Regions from separate parts of the Homo sapiens genome. Here regions 1, 3, 4 and 5 are each linked to region 2. Evidence: promoter capture Hi-C in 16 types of primary human blood cells and fetal thymus (Javierre and others, 2016). All regions are on one chromosome and are shown on one strand. The core of a region is centred on a gene start or on the middle of the fragment in contact, and the rest is flanking DNA. Distances in the headings are between cores, read along the strand shown. Region 1 overlaps STARD4 (StAR related lipid transfer domain containing 4). Region 2 holds the start of NREP-AS1 (NREP antisense RNA 1). Region 3 overlaps STARD4-AS1 (STARD4 antisense RNA 1). Region 4 overlaps STARD4-AS1 (STARD4 antisense RNA 1). Region 5 overlaps STARD4-AS1 (STARD4 antisense RNA 1).

The links. The method cuts DNA at HindIII sites, captures the fragments that hold promoters and counts their contacts. A CHiCAGO score of 5 or more calls a contact.
Region 1: a fragment that was not itself captured here is called in contact with the fragment with the promoter of NREP-AS1 in region 2 in 1 of 17 cell types (monocytes); the score reaches 5.4 in monocytes.
Region 3: a fragment that was not itself captured here is called in contact with the fragment with the promoter of NREP-AS1 in region 2 in 2 of 17 cell types (M1 macrophages and M2 macrophages); the score reaches 6.8 in M1 macrophages.
Region 4: a fragment that was not itself captured here is called in contact with the fragment with the promoter of NREP-AS1 in region 2 in 4 of 17 cell types (M0 macrophages, erythroblasts, M1 macrophages and 1 more); the score reaches 7.4 in M0 macrophages.
Region 5: a fragment that was not itself captured here is called in contact with the fragment with the promoter of NREP-AS1 in region 2 in 3 of 17 cell types (M1 macrophages, erythroblasts and M2 macrophages); the score reaches 6.6 in M1 macrophages.

Annotation. Positions count from the first base shown.
Region 1 is chr5:111,509,249-111,511,948 of GRCh38, forward strand. The region is part of intron 1 of STARD4 (StAR related lipid transfer domain containing 4); the gene reads right to left. Among named protein-coding and RNA genes, the nearest start is that of STARD4-AS1, 1.6 kb to the right of the region's middle. RefSeq lists an enhancer at 1-55. The HindIII fragment of the contact is 1,073 bases long and covers 729-1,801 here.
Region 2 is chr5:111,911,139-111,913,838 of GRCh38, forward strand. It overlaps NREP-AS1 (NREP antisense RNA 1), which reads left to right and starts at 1,370. Exons shown (of 4, transcript NR_046678.1): 1 at 1,370-1,582. It also overlaps a transcript of NREP not described here. The HindIII fragment of the contact is 1,485 bases long and covers 1,316-2,700 here.
Region 3 is chr5:111,527,681-111,530,380 of GRCh38, forward strand. All of the region lies in intron 1 of STARD4-AS1 (STARD4 antisense RNA 1), which reads left to right. Among named protein-coding and RNA genes, the nearest start is that of STARD4, 16 kb to the left of the region's middle. RefSeq lists an enhancer at 2,364-2,700. The HindIII fragment of the contact is 5,472 bases long and covers 1-2,700 here.
Region 4 is chr5:111,556,390-111,559,089 of GRCh38, forward strand. The region is part of intron 1 of STARD4-AS1 (STARD4 antisense RNA 1); the gene reads left to right. Among named protein-coding and RNA genes, the nearest start is that of STARD4, 45 kb to the left of the region's middle. The HindIII fragment of the contact is 730 bases long and covers 962-1,691 here.
Region 5 is chr5:111,599,664-111,602,363 of GRCh38, forward strand. All of the region lies in intron 1 of STARD4-AS1 (STARD4 antisense RNA 1), which reads left to right. Among named protein-coding and RNA genes, the nearest start is that of STARD4, 88 kb to the left of the region's middle. The HindIII fragment of the contact is 441 bases long and covers 1,203-1,643 here.

The sequences.
Region 1 (2,700 bases), core at 15-2,514, 400 kb before region 2:
TGCTAGGTTCCTGTGGTTGGCAGATAAGAGTATTTATGCAAAACTTTTTGATAGAAATCAAAGGTGAAACAGAAAGTTATTATTATCATAAGCAAACATTATCACTGGGCAAATCCAGTGCACGGAAAGTTACCTAGAAAGCTAGCTACCTAGAAGAGATGAGAATCTGCAACTTTAAGGTACTTGACTTAGTAATTCATACTGATCAGTATAAAGTTCAAGCTCCTTACTATAGCTTACAGGCCCTTTTATAATGTGGCATATTTTCATTACCTAATTTCCACTTATCTTTCCTGGATTCCCCTGAACCTGGGTTAGTTCCCCCTCCAATATTTTCTGACAGCAACTCTGTACTGTAATTATTCACTTGTTATCTTCTCCCGTTTAACTGTAAAATCTTTGGGGGGTAGGAAATCTGGCTTGTTCAATATTAATTCTCCTTACGTCTAGCACTCAGTAGGAACACAGTGAATAAAAAATGGAAAAATGTATAGACAATAAGCTACCATTCTCACTTATGGAAGACCTCAAGATATCTAAAGTATGCCCATTTACGCCAATCCTAGAGCTTCTGAATAACTAAAACTTCCTTTACCATAATGAAACACCATTTCTCAAGAAGGACTACTATTAAATATTTATCAAGCATCTATTATATACCAGGTCCTAGAACTACAGAAACAGATGGAATTCAGATTTTACTCTCAAATTGACTTATTCCACCCTTAAGCTTTAACAGAAATAACAACAACAAAAACTAAAACATTAAAAAATTCTATTAATAGCCTTTTTAAGAGTGGTGCAGTGGGAGGTAGGAAAGGAAGAGAAAGAAGTACAAAATCAGAAAGCTCTCTCTGATTAAATATGTCCAGCAATGTATTTAACCAAACAGTTAAGTCTTGCATGGATTATTTTCATCAAGATTAAGTCCATAATGAAATAATCATTGCCATCAAAACTGCTACCTCTGTGTAAACAGGCATAATTGAGCATTTCTCAAAATATTAATATATTCTAGAACCAAGAGGGTTGGGGGAGATGGGTTATCAAGGTCTTGGCTCTCTCTCCTAATATAACAGGGTACTGACATTAATTGAGAGGAAAACACCTAATTTGCCCTCCTGCAATCTCCAACTGTGGAGAATGTCAGGTAAATGTTTTAAATGCCATTCTGAACCCATTCTGAACTTCCTTTTACTAATTCAGTCTTTTATTCCCTTATCTTGACCTTATATCAGGAAATTATCCAACTCTAACATTTACACGTCAGAGAGAACAGGCACCACTTAACCTTATCAGAATATAATAGGTTCATATAAAAGATTTTATACTCTTGTCAGTCCCATGGCCAAATGCTGAGTAATGTCCACCTCCATGTTTTTCCTTTAATCTTTTTGTTCATGTTTTCTATGCCCATGCTTTTGAAGCTATCACTAGTGGTGATAGTGGCTGCCATCATAGGGAGGGCAGCTGTCTCAAGTTACTTTTCTTGAGGCCATCTATCAGCACCATAGTCTTGACCAATCCAACTCCAATTATTCTCAAATATCTGTCACAGTGAGATGGCATAGGTTCTATTTTAAATATGGAACATAATAAAACATTTAACCTGTAATGTAAAGTGAATGCCATAAAAATCTGTTTGGACTTTTGTAGTACGACTAGGTCAGAATTCACTTGTTAAAGAAATGCAGGTATCAGAACGGTCTAACCTTGCATTACTTGATTAATATGGTTTTCACTTCCGTCAACAGCTTCAGTTTAACATGCCATGGACTTTCCCCAATGTCATACAAACCAAAGCTTTGTAAATTAAATTATATTTTCTAACTAACATAAAAATTTCAGCATATGCTTGATTTCCAATCAATGTTGAACTGTTAAGTTTTCTAACTCAGACAAGTACAGCAGCTTCTCATTTTTTGAGACTGGCTCTGGCAGGAGCTCACTATTTAAAGAAATGCAACATGGAAGTATATTTCTACAATATGAATAGTGAGCCAACTTACTGTTCAAACCCCTAATGCTCTAATACTTGATTAAAAAAAAAACCTAATGCTCTGTACTTGATTTTAAAAAATAACAATAACATTTATTGATCACTTACTACATGGTCAGTCCTTCTGGCTGCTTTACATTGCATTTATTTTATTTAATCCTCACAACAGTAATAGTCCTCCTTGAGAAAATGTGTTTCATTATGGTAAAGGAATTTTAGTTATTCAGAAGCTCTAGGATTGGTGTAAATGGGCATACTTTAGATATCTTGAGGTCTTCCATAAGTGAGAATAGTAGCTTAATGTCTATACATTTTCCCTGTTTTACAGAAAGGGAAAATAGCAACAGGAAGGTTGAGTCACTTGTCCAAGATCACACAGTTCATAAGTGATGGAGCCAGAATTCCAACCCAGGGCGTCTGACTTCAGAGCCTAAAGCTCTCTCTTGTAAAACTGTGGAAGCTGATCACAGGCTGGAAAAGACTTCATATAAAAAACCTGGGCCCACCAAATATTTGTCAAGTTTTGTCCTGGCTGCTGAACCTAAAAATCTAAGGTAATCTTTCTCAAGTGTAAATTCGGGAAAACAATGACACTGATTTGGTGAGAAATTATTTGAGTTAATACATTTAGCAGGGACCTTGGAAGGCAGTAAGCCCTGGGAAAACTTTGTCTCTTGTCTTTGGCATCACCTCCGCGAAGC
Region 2 (2,700 bases), core at 120-2,619:
TGGATATCACCCCTGCACCCAGTGTTCTGGATATCACCCCGGCACCCAGCAATCTGGATATCACCCCTGTACCCAATGTTCTTGATATCATATCTGCATCCAGAGTTCTGGATATTACCAGTGCATAGAACAGTGTCTGACACATAGTAGCTACTCAGTAAGTTTTTCTAAATAGACTGATGAATATATAATCTATTTACTTATTTTATATTTTTTACTTACACACTTTGCAGAAGCATTACCTATTTGTTAGTTCAACCCTACACAATTGTGTTCAATAACAAAGTATCTAGCCCATTAATTCTGCACTGCTATTATCTCTACTTCCAATGCCATTAATCAAGACAATATTGAGTAAGCACATACTAAGTGGCAGAAACCCTGGGCCTTGGAAAGACCCTCCAGGAGTGAGCTGGAGATATGTTATATGCTTGGACTTCTTCCCAAGAGCACAGATGTCATAAATAATTCACAACTAGATGAGAAAAGGAGATGTCAAAGAAATTAAATGACTCATAAGTGTGCTACTATTATTCAGGCTCAATCTGACCTCTTTTTGACTTTGGTGAGAGGGTCTATTTTTTTGACCATCTAAAAGACATAAAAATAGACACCAATTATATGACAAGTTGCAAAAGCTTGAGGAGACCTCTGCATAGACATAGAATCCAAACCGAAAATAATTTATACTCATTGCCTACCTACTATGTACCTAGCACTGTGCTGAGCCATATACACACAGCATTTCAGGTAGTGCCCACCACCATCCTATAAGCAAGTACTAGTCTTCACCCCATTTTACAGATGGGATAACTAAGTTGTGGGGAGGCTAAATAATTTGTCTAATGGTACACGATTGATAAGTGCCAAAGACAAAATATAAATTCCTGTCTGTCTACCTTATAAAGATGTAAATTTAGGAGAACCAGCTTCTCTTGAATTGCAAATTTTATGCTAGAATATCTAATATTTAAATTAGAGCATTCCTTGAACTTTTGTTGGCCAGTTTAATTTTTCTTTCATCTTGTGCACACATTCGTATGGTAACATTCTCCAGTATTTTCCTTGCACCCTTTTTTCATCATGCTCTTCTCCCCAATTCCCTCATCCAGAATGGTGTGGCTTCCGTAAGTGACTAAAACCCACCCTGGCAAAATGAGCTAGGGTCTGCCCTGCTATAATTCAGACAGATCTGAATTACTTCTTGACCCTCCTCACTTCATCCACCCTGCACCTTGCCTGCCCTGTCCCCTGGTGCCCTTGACTACTAGTCTGTTTTCTATATATTGTGACTGTATACACACCTTGCCACTGAAGCTTGAGTCATAATCTATTCTATCTGTATCTCTGAAAATGATCTTTACTTCAACTTTCCTAAAGGATATAGATTTCTCTCTTCTTTGGCTCCAATAATTTGTGCCCAAACTTCAGACCAGTAATTCCCCAGATGAGCCTGCTGCTACCCTACTTGCGTCTTACTTTTGCAAGCTGTTTCCATTCTTATTAGGCTAATAACTGAAGACAGGATCAAGATATCTTTCTAACCTATCCAAAATACCTGAATATTCTGTCACATTCAACAGTAAGTCAATACAGGATTATGTATACATCTTTGTATTCTTCATATTACCCAGTCCAGCCTTCTGCACTTAATAGGTACATGAATAAGTTAATCAATAAATGAAGGAATAGTTGGTTGTTTGATGAATAGCTGGAGAAGAACTGGCATCGTGCCTAGGTAAAGTAGAATATTATTTCATAGGTACCACTTGTATTTTTTTCTTCCTACACAAAGTGTTTAAGAAATATTTGTTCATTAAGATTATTAGCATTGACCAGTAATTGATTTTGAGTCACTTATTTGGCTTACAATATTGTTTACTTATTAGCTACAATGTGTAAGACACCTACTGTACAGCAGCCAATATCTTGAGTACTTTTACAATTTTTCATTTTACAGCACAACAAAAGTTGAAGGTAAGTGTTAGTATCCATTTTTTACAGTAAAGGCAGGATAGAAGGTTCAGAGAGGTTAAGTAATTTGTAGAAGATTTCTTAGGAAATGAATAGGAGTCATGGATCCCATGTCACTCTAATTTCAAATTCTAAATTCTTTTACTCTTTCTGCTATTTTGCACTACTTCATTTTAAAAGCGGTCTTATAAAATATCCTTCTAAAATTTTTCAGGTGTTTTTCAGGAGATAAGGAACTAGCACATTGCCTTTCATTAATCCATTACAGCAGACTAGGTTGCAAGATAATCTAGCTGTTTCCTAGCAGAAGAAAAAGAATGACCTTGAATAAATGGAACCCAGCATCACTATATTTTGATGTGAGAAAAGGAAGTTGAAAAGATTCAAAGGATAGACATCTTCCCAGATTAACAGGGATGTGAGTTCATAGTTCAGGGTCCTAAGTGACTGAAGAGTAAAATGAGGAGGCTAAATGCCCAGATGAGACAGTAACAAAAGATAAAAGGAGGAACTAATCAGACAATTGGGTAAGAGGATGATAGTGAGGAATGGGTGCTGAAAACATGCTTTCCTACTTCACAAATATTTTGAGGAATAATTAAGATTTGTAGGGAGAAAAATGAATTCCCAGCTCTACCTTCTCCCCGTCTCTGGATTTGATTATAGGGATGAGGCTATTACTACAAAAAACTAAGGGTATGAGAGGATAAGAGAAGTAGAAGAGAA
Region 3 (2,700 bases), core at 115-2,614, 380 kb before region 2:
TCGTTAAGAATATGTTATAGAAAAAATATTGATCTGAAGAAAATATTTGCAAATTATTGAATATAAACATGAAACAAGGCATGTAACAGTATATATAAATTCTAGAGAAGGAACTATATACTCTTTGATTCAAAACTTTTGTTTCTGAGACTTTTAAGAAAATAAAAAAGAAAGGGTAAAAAGAACCCAAGTTCATCTTCATCTAAGAATTGTTTTTAGTAGCATAAAAATTAGAAACTGCAAGTCCAAAAATACGTGATTAAATTTCCATTTCCAATCAAGAAGCCTGACAAAAGACATTCAAAGTATATTATCTGACCACAATAGAATTAAATTAGAAATCAGTAAAGTAATCTGGACAAAACTCAAATATTTAGAAAGAAAATTACACACTGCTAAATAACCCATGAGTCAAAAAAGAAATAAACAAAAAATTAAGATTTTTAAAAACTGAATGAAAATAAAAAAGACATATGAAAATCTATTGTTTACGACTAAGGCAGTAATCATAAGGAAATTTTTGCTCTAAATATCTAAATTAAAAAAGAAGAAGTCTCAAGTCAATGACATCAGCTTCCACCTTAAGAAAAAAGAATTTCAAGTTCCTTAAAAGATACAAACTATTCTACTAAGCTCATTCATGAAGAAATAGATAACCTGAAGAGCACTATATCAATGAATGAAATTAAATTTAGAGCTTTAAAACTTTCCACGAAAATTCCATTTTCAGATGTCTTCACTGGTGAATTCTATGAAACATTTAAGGACGAAATAATAGCCTTGCAACCCAAACTCTTCCAGAAAATTGAAGTCTTCCCAACTCATTCCACGAGGCCAGCATTATTACATTAAAGCCAGAAAAAGATATTATAAGAAAACTACAGAACGTTATTCCTCACGAACGGAGAGACAACAATTCTTACCAAATTATAACAAATAAAATAATAAACAATTTATTAAAAGGATAATACATCATGACCAAGTCGGGTTTATCTCAGGGATGCAAGGTTAATTTAACATTTGAAAAACAATCAATGTAATTCACCATGTTGACAGACTGGGGAAAAAAAAAAAAGAGATGACGAAAAAGCATTTGACAAATGCCCAAAATCTAATCCCAATAAAAACAGTCAGCAAAATAGGAATAAAAGGAACAACCCCAACCTGATCAAGGGCATCTACGAAACTGTACTGTTAGCGTCTTATTAATGATGAAAGATGAAATGTTTTCCCCTAATATGAGGAAACAGGCAAGGATGTCTACTCTCTCCCTTCTATTCAACATTGTCCTGGAGGCTTTAGCCAGTCCAGCCAGTCAAGAAAAAGAAATAAGAGATATCCAGATTGGACATAAGAAAATAAAATTTTCTTTATCCACAGATGAAACGATCATCTACCTAGAAAACCCTATGGAATTTATATATATGTATTACATCTAATAAGTGAGTTTAACAAAGTTGGGAGATGCAAGATCAATATAAAAAATCAAGTCTGTTTCTATATACTAGGTACATACATACATACATAATTAAAATTAACATAATACCATTTATACTGGCATAAAAACATGCCATTAAATATGCATATTAGGGATAAATATGAAAAAAATGAACATGGCCTGTATATTGCAAACTAGCAAACATAATGAGAGAAATTAAAGTCTAAGTAAATAGAGATAAATGGCATGTGTTTGGATAAACATGACTAAAATATCAATTCTCCCTATTTGATCTACAGATATAATGAAATCCCAATTAAAATCTCAGCAGGCTCATCTGTAGATGTTGACAGCTAACTCTAAAATTCATGTGGAAATGCAAAGGGCATAGAATAGCCAAAACAACTTTTAAAAAGAAGAACTAAGTTATCTAACTTTTACTTCCTGTCTTCACATCTTGGTATAAAGTTACATTGATCAAAATTATGATATTCAATCAAGATAGACAAATAGGTCAATGAAATAGCCCAGCAATAGACCTATACTTACATAATTAACTGATTTTCAACAAAGACATAAAGGCAATTTAAAAATATGAGATCGTATAAATTATTTTGTATAGGATGCAGGTATTAAATTTTGCTATAAAAATGCACATGTCAACATATCGAGATTTTCCTGATATATTAAGAGAAGAGTATAGGGTCTTAAACAGTAGGTAAATTATTATTCTATTTTTTAACGGGATCTATATTTTTTCAAAAGGATGCATATATACACATACACATATACAATAAAAATAATAGTAAGAGCCTAGAATTTTTATAATTTTAGTTTTGCTTTTAGTGTTTTTGCTTCTATTTTGTTATTTATTTATAATAGACATGTACTATAATAAATGACAAAACCGAAACATTAAAATACTCTATAATTATTATATAAAATACAGTAAATATTGTTTTGGGGGAAAATTTATGTGTGTGGTATGAAGACTGAAAGATATATTCCAAATATTAACAAAGAGAGAGTTACAGATAGTCTTTTAGCTTTGTGTCTTCCTTGGTTTCCAAATATTTCACAGTGGGCACACTTGCTTTGAAAAATTATAAAGGCTATAAATATCATTTTTAAACTCTCAATAGTTCCATATAACCGTTGAGCTAAAGATCTAACTTCTTCATCTGACATGAAGATCGTACATGAACAACATGGCCCAATCTGACCTTCCTGCCTTTCCTCTGTCCCCACGCGAGTGCCCCCAT
Region 4 (2,700 bases), core at 77-2,576, 350 kb before region 2:
TTTTCTATTTCCTCCCCTCGCTTTCAGCCTCTGGTAACCACCTTTCTACTTTGAGTTAAATTTGTAGCTAGTGTCAGGTAAGGGTCCAGCTTTTCTCTTGCATGTGGATATCCAATTTCCCAGCTCCCTTTGTCGAAAGACTGTCCTTTCTGCATTGAATGGCCTTGGCACCCTTTCAAAAATCATTTGACCGTATATGTGAGGGTTTTTCTGGACCTTCTATTCTATTTTATTGGTCTATATGTTTTTCTTTATGCCAGTTCCGCACTGTTTTTATTACTCTATCTTTGCAGTAAGTTTTAAAATTAGGAAGGGTGAGTCATCCAGCTTTGTTCTTCTTTTTAGAGACTGTTATAGCTATTCAAGGTCCCTTGATACTCCATATGAATTTTAAGATAGATTATTCTATTTCTGCAAAAAGTATTATTGGGATTTAATAGGGATTGCACTGAAGATCACTTTGTGTGGTATAAAAATCTCAACAATATTAAGTCTTCCAATCAGTGGACATGGAATGTGTTTACATTTATTTATGTCTTCTTTAATTTCTTATAGCAACATTTTGTAATTTTATTGTTTAAGTCTTTCAGCTCTTTGGTTAATTCGTAAGTATTTTACTCTTTTTAGTCTTGTTGTAAATGAGATTGTTTTCATGGTTTCTTTTTCAGTTCATTGTTAGTGTATAAAAAATCCAATTAATTTTTGTGTGTTGATTTGTATCCTGCTCCTTTGCTGAACTCATGTATTAGCTCTAACAATTGTTTGTGGAACCCTTAGCATTATCTACATATAGTAACATGATATCCACTGTGAACAGAGATAAATTTTACTTCTTCCCTTCCCATTTGGATAATTTTTATTTTTTTTCTGGCCTAATTGCTTTTGCTGGGTTTTCCAGTGCTATATCAAACAGAAATGGTGAAACTGAACATCCTTATTTTGTTCCTGATCTTAGAGGAAAAGCTTTCAGTCTTTCACCATTGAGTATGATGTTTGCTGTGGGTTTTTCTTTACTGAATTTTATTATGTTGAGGTAGTCTTATTCTATTTTCAGTTTGTTGCATATTTCTGCCATGAAAATATGTTGAATTTCCTCGACTGCTTTTTTCTGCACCAATTGAAATGATCATTCATTTTTTATTTTATTCTGTTAATATGATGTATTATGTTGAACATTTTTTTCTATGTTGAACTATCCCTGCATTTTAGAAATAAATCCCGCTTGGTCATGGTGTATAATTCTTTAAATATACTGCTAATTGTGGTTTGCTAGTATTATGTTGAGAATTTTTGCGTTGGAGAACTTTATCCCTTTTGTTCATAAGAAATATTGATCTTCAGTTTTCTTTTCTCTTAGTGTCTTTGTCTTCATTATCAGGGTAATGCTGAATTCATAGAACAAACTAGGAAGTGTTCTCTCTTCTTCAATTTTTTGGAAAAATTAGAGAAGTAGTGGTATCTGTTATTTAAATGTTTGGTAGAATTCACCCATGAAGTCATAATATCTGGTGATTTTGTTTGTCAGGAGATTTTTGGTTACTGACTCAATCTCCTTAATAGCTATAGGTCTATTTAGATTTTCTGTTTCTTCATGACTTGGTCTTGGTAGGTTTTATGTTCCTAGAAATTTGTTCATTTCATCTAGGTTATCTAATTTGTCGGTGTAAAGTTGTTCATAGTACTTCCTTTTAAGCTTTTTTACTTTTGTAGAATCAGGAATAATGTCCCCAATGTTATTTCTGCTTTTAGTAAACTGAGTCATCTCTTTCTCTCTTAGTCAATCTAGCTTAAAGTTTGTCAATTTCATTGATCTGTTCAAATAATCAACTTTTGGTTTCATTGATTTTTTCTGTTGCTTTTCTATTCTCTTATCTCTGATTTAATTTTTAATTATTTTCTTCCTTCTGCTGGCTTTGGGTTTAGTTTATTCTTCTTTAGTTTATTACTTATTGTAAGGTTAGGTTATTGATTTAAGATCTTTCTTGTTCTTTTAATGTAAACATTTGTAGCTATAAATTTCCCCTTTAGCATGACCTTCACTGTGCACTATATTCTGTAAGTTTTGGTATGTTCTGTTTTTATTTTTAGTTTTCTCTAAGAATTTCACAATTTCCCATTTGTTTTCTTCTTTGATCATTAGCTTTTCAACACTGCATCATTTAATTTCCACAAATTTGTAACTTAAAAAAATTGTACTGGTGTTATTGATTTCTAACTTTAACCTATTGTGGTTAGAGAAGATGCTTTGTATGATACTTGCCTTTTAAAGCCTAATGAAACTTAATCTGTGGTAAAACATACAGTGTATCCTCTAAAATGTCCCATGTGCATTGGAGAAACGTGTGCTGTTTTTGTTGGGTAAAATATTCTGTATATATCTATTATTATGTTAAGTCTGCTGTTTCCTTACTCGTCTTCTATCTGGTTGTTCTAGTCATTATTTAGAGTGGCATAATAAAGTCTCCAGTTATTATTGTAGAACAGTCTGTTTCTGCCTTCAATTATGTCAGTTTTTGCTTCCTATACTTTGGTAGTTATTAGGTGCATAAATAATTTTTATTATTATATCTTCTCACTGCATTAATATTTTTGTGAATATATAATTTCCTTCTCAGTGTTTTGTAATCTTTTTTGATTGAAAGTGTATTTTGTCTGATATTAGTGTAGCCACTTCTGCTCTCTTTTTGTTACTATTTCCAT
Region 5 (2,700 bases), core at 173-2,672, 310 kb before region 2:
TTATTGAACCAGCTTTTCAGCTTAAGAAAATTTTTGATAACTTTTATGTTACTTGCAACCCAAAGAACCCTAATATGATTATTGACAGAGGGAATTTTTAAAGGTGTTTTCATTGTCCTGAATCTTTGAAAATTGGCCAATACTGGGGATGTAACACACACCTCTGAAAAAGTTAAATAACCATAGAGTGCTATATGTATTATATAACATTAGTATTAGTTTTTAGTATTGGCAATAGTATTAGTTTTTATTGCTGCTGTAAATCTTAGTGGTTTAACACAATACAATTTTTTTCTTTTTTTTAAGTTTTATTTTAGGTTCAGGGATACATGTGCAGGTTTGTTATATAGGTAAACTGCATGTCTTTGGGGGTTTGGGTACAGATCATTTTATCACCCAGGTAATAAGCATAGTACCCAACGGGTAGTTTGTTTTTTATTGTCTCCCTACTCCCACCCTCCACCCTCAAGCATTCACCAGTGTCTATTTTCCTCCGCTTTGTGTCCATGTGTTCTCGTTTAGCTCCCACTTAAAAGTGAGAACATGTGGTATTTGTTTTTCTGTTCATGGATTAGTTTGCTTAGTTTAATGGCCTCTAGCTCCATCCATGTTGCTACAAGGGAGATCACAATAAAACTTATTATGTACAGTTCAATAGTTCAGAAGTTTGATGGGTCTAATGATGCTATATCAAGATGCCAACAGGGCTGCATTCTTTTCTGGAGGCCTTAGGGAAGAGTCCAATTCCTTACCTTTTCCAGATTCTACAGGTCATCTACAGTTTTTGCTTTATGGATCCTTTCTTCCATCTTCGAAGCCAACCACATACCTTCCATAATCACGTATCTTTCTTTGACTCTTCTCTTTTGCCTCCCTTTTCCACTCTTAAGTACCTTTGTGATTACATTGAACCCACCTGAAAAACCTAGGATACTCTCCCTATTTTAAGGCAGCTGAATAGCAACCTTAATGTCACCTGCAGCCTGAATGTCCTTTTTGTCATGTAAACTAACCTAGTCACAGGTTCTGGGCATTAACACGTGGACATCTTTGGGCAACATGACATTATTTTGCATACTGCAAGTGCATTCTCCTTTCATAGCAAGAAATATTTTTTTTTTCAGTTGCCTGCTTACTTGCCTGCTTCTCTAACAGACTGTGACTATCTCCTTTTCCCAATCTTGTTCCAGTGTCTACCATGAAGCTTGTTCCATAGTCAGTGAAAATTATAATTTCTGGGTTTGTTAGCTACAGAAGATCGGGGAAAAGACAACTAGGCAGGAGATTAGGCTTTCTGGAAAGTGATTGACTTTGTTATTGCTGTCTCTTTGGCACTTACATCATAGATTTGCAAAAAAAAAATGTTTGGGAAGTGAATGGATAAATAAAGGTGGAATTTGAGCTGGACCTTGAAAGATGGGTAGCATTTGAATAAAAAAATGAACAAGTTATGCCTAGGGCTCAAAGAAGAGTTGATGAAAGTAATAGCTGGTGTCTAGGGCTCACAGAGGAGAGGATAGGTTTTTGAACAGGCAGGGTCAGGCTGGGTTACAGACAGCCTCGGGAAGCAGCCTGGGGAGTAAAGGCTTATTGTTCTCTGTAGACAGTAGAAAATCCCCAGTGCTATTACATACCCTACATCAAGCTTACTCCTTTGGAGATCTCATCCAGTCCCATCAATACCATCCGTACATTGATAACTCTCAAATGTGTGCTATATCCAGACCCAGTTTTTCCTCAGGACACCGTGCTCACATACTCAAGTGCCTGCTTGACATTTCCATGCAAATATCTAAAAAAAGAATTTCCAATGCTTCAAAATGAACTTCACATGTTCGAAACAAAACTTCTGACTCTCACACCTTTCCCCAACTTTCTCTTTTCCTGGTGTTCTGCATCTCAATGAATAAATACTCATGTCTTCCAACTGCATGGGAGAAAAACTATGGTGTCTGCCTTCTTTCACACCCCACATTGAACTTATCAGAAAATCCTATCTGCTCTACCTTTAAAATAATTCCAGAATTCAACAACTACTTCTCAGTACCTTTGGTACTAAGTCCTAGTCAAGTCACCATCATCACTCCTCCAGGGTTATTATAATGGATTCCTAACTGGTCTCCTTCATTTCACCATTGTGCCTTCAGTCTCAATAAAGTAGTCAGAGGAATCCTTTTAAAATTCTAATTATACTTGTATTCAAAACCTGCAGTGGCTCTGAATCCCATATAGTACAAAAGCTAAAGTCCTTACAATGGCCTACAGTCCCCACACCATGTGGCCCCTGTCTTCTTCCCTCCCACTCATCCTCATTGCCTACCATGCTCTCCTCTCTCACATGCACTCTGCTGCAGGCACACTGGCCTCCTTGCTGCTCCTTGAACACACCATGTCTGCATCTGCCTCAGGACTTTGGCACAGTTCTGCACAGTTCTCTCTATATAGGCTGCTCTTTTTGTAGATCTTTCCATGACTCTCTCTCACATGCTCACTCATCCGTTTCCTTAAAGTCTCTGCTGAAATATCACCTTACCAGAAGGGCCTTCCTTCACCACCCAATATAAAATATTATCCCCTCCCCAACATTCTCTATTCTGCTTCCTAGGCATTCTTCCTCTCCATAGCATTCACCAATTCAAGTGCATCTGATTTACTTCATACTTGTTTATTTTGTGCCCTCTCCACTAGAAATGTAAGCTC